2 separate regions of the Homo sapiens genome follow, and region 1 is linked to region 2. Evidence: promoter capture Hi-C in 16 types of primary human blood cells and fetal thymus (Javierre and others, 2016). All regions are on one chromosome and are shown on one strand. The core of a region is centred on a gene start or on the middle of the fragment in contact, and the rest is flanking DNA. Distances in the headings are between cores, read along the strand shown. Region 1 holds the start of ATG13 (autophagy related 13). Region 2 holds the start of SPI1 (Spi-1 proto-oncogene).

Region 1 (2,700 bases), core at 166-2,665, 760 kb before region 2:
ATTCATCAGTCACATCATCCAGCTTAAAACGGTCCAATGTCCGGTGACCACGGCCATATAGCAAGAGGTCACAGTCAAGCACTGTTATTGGTATAGCCATGGTAAATGTGAATGTTGGCTCTCCTCTTTGCTTTTTCTGAACTGTTCCCAATGAAGATGTTGGTGCAAGAACGTATTTTTAAGAAAGTATCAGAATCCAACAGCTAACCACAGTTAAATGGCTCTGCCATTTATAATCTTCTCTCTGTAAATGTTAAAAGAAAAAACATTAGGAACCTACCAAAGACTTTAAAGTGACTCAAAGGCTGGAGCAGCTCCTTTTCTACAAATTTCCATTTTGTTGAGGCAAAACGTACTGTACTTACAACTCCGGATTTTTCTCCACTAACTCATGGCTGCACGACAGGCTTGCTCTGATTCAAGGATAATGGGAATTCAATCTTTGTGGCTCATTTAATGCTTGGCATTTCAATTGAGAACACCAAAAGAATAATGGAGGTGATGACATAATTATTCACAAGGTAAAAGAGGTCGGCTTCTAACTATATAGGCCAAGAAGCAGCTGACATATGTCATAACCACCTTGGGTAAGAATTGGTCACGGGTTTCATTATCCAAAGACTTCTGGTTTCACCTGACAAATACAGGACAGATGCTGGGGTGTTCAAACCAGTCTAACAAGAAAAGAAGGGGCAAAAAAAAAAAAAAAAAAAAAAAAAAAAAAACAACCAAAGTCCACAACCCAGCCTTATGGACGTACACTGTGTGCTGTAACAAAAGGCTTTTCCCTCACTCCAAGAACTCCAAATCGTGAACCTGAGGGCCAGGAAGTACGGAAGACCAGACACATTGGAAGTCGGGAGCGAAAAAGAGGCTGGCCGAACCAGGTTTGGGAAGCGACTCTGCCACTTTTAAAGGGCACCCTAAAAACGGATGTCAAAGTCTGATTGCGCCGGCCACTCAGTTAGCCCAGGCCCGTCACCCACCTCTCCGCGGCTGCCAGGTTACCAGCCACACTTCCCACCCACCCAGCCGGGTTGGGCCCTCCTCCGGAACCGGCGACTGCACAGAGGCCGCCACGGCGCGCAACAGCGGCACCGCCCCTTCCGCGTCAGCGCCCGCCCCGCGCCGCGCCCTCACTGCCGCTGCCGCGGCTACCTGCGGTTCATCTCCGCACATTCCACACGCGGCCCAAACGGTCTCTCTCTCTCTCTCTCAAACACCGCCTTTCCGTCTTTGTTTTATCTTGAGTAGCTTAGAAAGATTGGAGAAGAAAGCTTACGTGGAATGAAAATCAACTTTTATGGATATTTTGAGGACTAAAAGAATAAATAGGGCGTCCGTACTGTAGCGAAAGTGCGACTAAGGTTAGGCATCTGGATTTCCCCCGTAGCCCTCTTTCACCCCCCCCCCCCGGCCATTACCGAAGCGGATGAAAACAAACACTAACGATGGCGGCGCCGGGAAGCGACCGGCTGCTGGGCTTAAGGCGGGAGTGACCGCTTAACCAGTGAGGGAAGCACTGAAGAGCGCCAGTCGACGTGGGTGCGACAACTCGCGGAGTCTTAGGAGCAAAACGTCTGGGGCCTGCGAGCCAGGACCCTTCTGAAGCCTTAGGTGTCTATCGGCGACGTGTACGGTCACTGCAGCTCCGGAGCGCGGAACCCTCAGCCAGGAGGCGCGGCTGGTCGGTCCCAGGTCCCGGCCTCCGTAATGAGAGCCCGGAACCACTCTTTGTGCCGCAGCTTCGCAGGTACTAACTTTTGCGGGGGATACCCCAAGATCTCTCAGCGCCCCCGGGTGGGAGGCTGTGGATCTGCGGCCCCTTGGCTGCTGCTTCGTGGAAGTAGAAGGGATTAGCCACGGTTCAATCCCCTGGGCCCCTGAGTTTTCTGTGGGAAGTTGAGTTGGTCTAGGCCCCGTTGGCCCCTGCTTGTTTGGCAGAGAATCCCCTCCACCCCAGAGCTTTCCTCTCCACTTTTTCAGCTCCTTGGGTTAGGTCGTCAGGCGTTTTGGAGGTAATTTGGGGGGCCATAACTCCGGGGTTGGGTGCCAATATGAGTGAGGTAGGTTTTCATTCAATCAAGATTTGCTGAGTGCCAAATATGTACTCCGCGTGTAGGTGAGGGTGACTGTTGACTAGTGAAAAAAGGGACCCATGGTTCACGACTGTCTTCTTACTGGCAGTGGAACGACCTGTGGAAACCTGTGATCCATTCTCATTAAATAAATCTCTGGGTAAGTGGCTAAGCACCTTCTTGAGCTCATCACTAATTCTTCCCAGTTTTCACTTTTCCAGTGAGTTCCCAGTTAGCCTGGTCAATTCAGCGTAGCATTTCACTTTTGGTATTTCTTCGTTCTCTGGCCACCCCGCAGCCAAAAAGAAAAAAGAGATTTTAAAAAATTACCTATTTTCTCATTACACTTAGTTTAAAACTCATCTCCTAAGGTGATAGAATTTATTGGACACCTTTAGTGGGAGATGTATTATAATAAGAAACAACAAGCTCTTCCTTTACACTAAATTAGCTTCCAGATTTTGTGTGTTGTTTTATGACTGTTAGTCCTTTTCATGTGTGCATGTAGTGGCTCCAGCTCAATTATGAGGTTTTTTTTTTGTTGTTTTCAACTCTCCATTTATCAGCTCAGGAGAAGTCTTTTAGTTTTTTAGATTTTAAAATTTTTATTATTATTATTAGA
Region 2 (2,700 bases), core at 201-2,700:
GCTGGCTGGTCCTGCCTGGTCCTGCCTGTGGCTGGCCAAGTGAGGAGGCCAGGAGCCCAGCACTGAGCCTGCCCCTCTGGGTTTCCAGGTAGTACAGCCTCGCTGCAGGATGTCAGCCCGGCTCTGGTCGGGTTGGTGTGATGTCAGGCCTGGGGTGCCTCCCAGCCTCCTGGGGTGGCTCTGAGCCAGGGCATAGTGGGGGAAGGGAGCTGCCTCTAGACCAGGAAAGTGGATTCAGGTGGGCAGCCTGCCAAGCCCTTCCCGGCTCCCCTCAAGCCTCCTCACTCCTGAGAGGTCATGGGGTGGGAAAAGGGAGAAGGGTCCTTTCCGAGGGACCCTGGTCTGACACCTGCCTAAGGCTGCAACTGTCACTGAGAGTGAGGAGCAGTGGCGATCTGCCCTTCTCTTCTCGGGGTCCCCTGGGGCTCCCACTTCTTCACCCCCAAGACCCAGTCCCTGTCCTTGTCCCAGCCTCAGCCCCCATTCTCACTTATCACATGCTCACCCCAGGTCCCACCCAGCCCCAATCTCAGTCCTGGCCTTGTCCCAGCCCTGTCCCCTGCCGCGCCTCTCCCTGAACTCCAGCCCTGGGGCCAGCCCTAACTGCACTGTCTCAGCTCCACTCCTGGCTCCTTTCCAGCACCAGTCCCTGTCTCCTGTGGGTACCCCTGTGGGCCCATGGCCCTGACCCTTTGGTCAACAATCATGTCCTCTGTGCCAGGCCCCAGACTGGGCGTTGGGGACCCAGAGTTCCATCAGCTTTGGTTTCCAGGAGCCCCAAGGCCATGGGCCAAGACTTCTGCCCATTGCCTCCTGCCTTCAACCCCTTCCCATCCAGGGGACCGGCCTCCCCCAAGCCAGTCCCCCCATCTCCCTCCTCTACCTCTCTACCACCGCCTTCACCATCCTCAGCCCAGCACCCTCCCCAGGAGCCCCGGCCTCCGCCTGCCACCCGAGCCCTGTCTATAAATAACTGTTCAGGCCCCACCGATCACAGCCCCACCGTGGGCCTGGCCTCAGCCCGCCAGGGCATGCTCCGAGGAAGCCAATGGCCCCCTCGCTGGGTCTCAGGCCAGGAGTTCCAGGGAGGAAACCCTGACTTCCCACTGATAGCAAGCCAGGAGGGCAGTGGGTGGGCTGGCGGGTTCGTGGGCAGGCAGGCAGGCGTCCGAGGGCCACGGGTTGGGCTGGTGGAGGAGTCCCGGTACTCACAGGGGGGACGAGGGGAAACCCTTCCATTTTGCACGCCTGTAACATCCAGCCGGGCTCCGAGTCGGTCAGATCCCCTGCCTCGGTGGGGGCCAATGCAGAGCCCCTCAGGATGGGGTGCCCCGTCAGGGGCTGGACGGTCGTGGGGCGGGTGCAGGGCTCAGGCCTGCCCCCTGAGCTACAGGAGCCCTGGGTGAGCCCCCTCCCTTGACATTGCAGGGCCAGCACAAGTTCCTGATTTTATCGAAGGGCCTGCCGCTGGGAGATAGTCCCCTTGGGGTGACATCACCGCCCCAACCCGTTTGCATAAATCTCTTGCGCTACATACAGGAAGTCTCTGGCCGGCTGGGGCAGGTGGTGCTCAAAGGGCTGGCCTGGGAAGCCATGGGGTCCAGGCCCCCTGCCCAGAGGAAGCTGGGACTGAGAGGGATGACTTTGGGGGCTAAGCTGGGGAGGGAGGATGGGAGGGAGAACGTGTAGCTCTGCCACACCACTGGGAGGCTTTTGCTCTAACCCAACAAATGCCTGCTTCTTTTGAGATCCCTATGTAGCCAACAGTCACCTCATTGGGGTCAGAGCTGGAAGGGGTGGCCTCTTGGGGCCTCCACTTTCTGGAGTCAGCCTTCCTGGGTGAGGGCTCTGATCTAGCAGGCTATCAGGCCTGGCTCTTCCTGTGGCCCTGCACCCCCACTGCCTAGGCTATCCCTAGGCTGAGGCTGGGCTCAGGTGTAGGGTCTTCAGCATAGTGCTGCTTTCTTCCTTCCCTCTGAATCTGTTCACATGGGCTTCCCTACCACCAGAAGAGGGTCCTGGGTTCTTATACCCTCCCCTCCCAGCTTCTTGATTACCACATTCAAATCCCTAGGGCTCTGTTTCCAGCCCAGGTTTCTCAGTTTCCCCATCCCTTGGCAATGCCTGAATATCAATCTAACCCTCCTGGTTTACAAACCTTTCTTGCCTATCCACCATTCATCTGTTTTCCCATGCATCTATTTGTCTGTCTATTTGTCCATCCAGCTATCCATTCATCAAGCCCACCATGCATTCACTTATGTGTCCATTTATCCAACTGTCCGTTTGTTTGTTCATTCATCTGTCAGTCAATTCATCCACCCACCCATCTGTTTATCTACTTGTCTATCTAACCATCTATATGTCCATTAATCAGCCCGTCCACCTGCTATCAGTCCATCAGTCCACAATTCCATCTGTTTATCCATCTATGAATCTGCTCATCCATTCATCCACCTGTCCATCCATCCACCCATCCACTCATCCACCCATCTACCCATCCACTCATCTGTCCATCAACCCATCCATCATCCACCTACCCCTTCATTCATTCATCCATCCATCCACCAGTCCACTCATCCACCCATCTACCAATCCACCCACCTACCATTCCACCCATCTATTCATCCACCTATCCATCCATTCACCTATCAGCTTCGGTTTCCAGGAGCCCCATGAGAACAGGCAGTATTTGACTTT

What was found. The method cuts DNA at HindIII sites, captures the fragments that hold promoters and counts their contacts. A CHiCAGO score of 5 or more calls a contact.
Region 1: the fragment with the promoter of ATG13 here is called in contact with the fragment with the promoter of SPI1 in region 2 in 1 of 17 cell types (neutrophils); the score reaches 7.6 in neutrophils.

What each region holds. Positions count from the first base shown.
Region 1 is chr11:46,616,138-46,618,837 of GRCh38, forward strand. ATG13 (autophagy related 13) reads left to right here and starts at 1,416. Exons shown (of 19, transcript NM_001346311.2): 1 at 1,416-1,753. It overlaps HARBI1 (harbinger transposase derived 1), which reads right to left and starts at 1,090. Exons shown (of 3, transcript NM_173811.4): 1 at 987-1,090; 2 at 1-244. The coding sequence starts at 100. RefSeq lists an enhancer at 1,223-1,402 and a silencer at 1,382-1,676. The HindIII fragment of the contact is 4,045 bases long and covers 1,276-2,700 here.
Region 2 is chr11:47,377,097-47,379,796 of GRCh38, forward strand. SPI1 (Spi-1 proto-oncogene) reads right to left here and starts at 1,451. Exons shown (of 5, transcript NM_003120.3): 1 at 1,213-1,451. The coding sequence starts at 1,257. RefSeq lists enhancers at 5-204, 875-924, 1,098-2,049, 1,545-1,614. The HindIII fragment of the contact is 19,336 bases long and covers 1-2,700 here.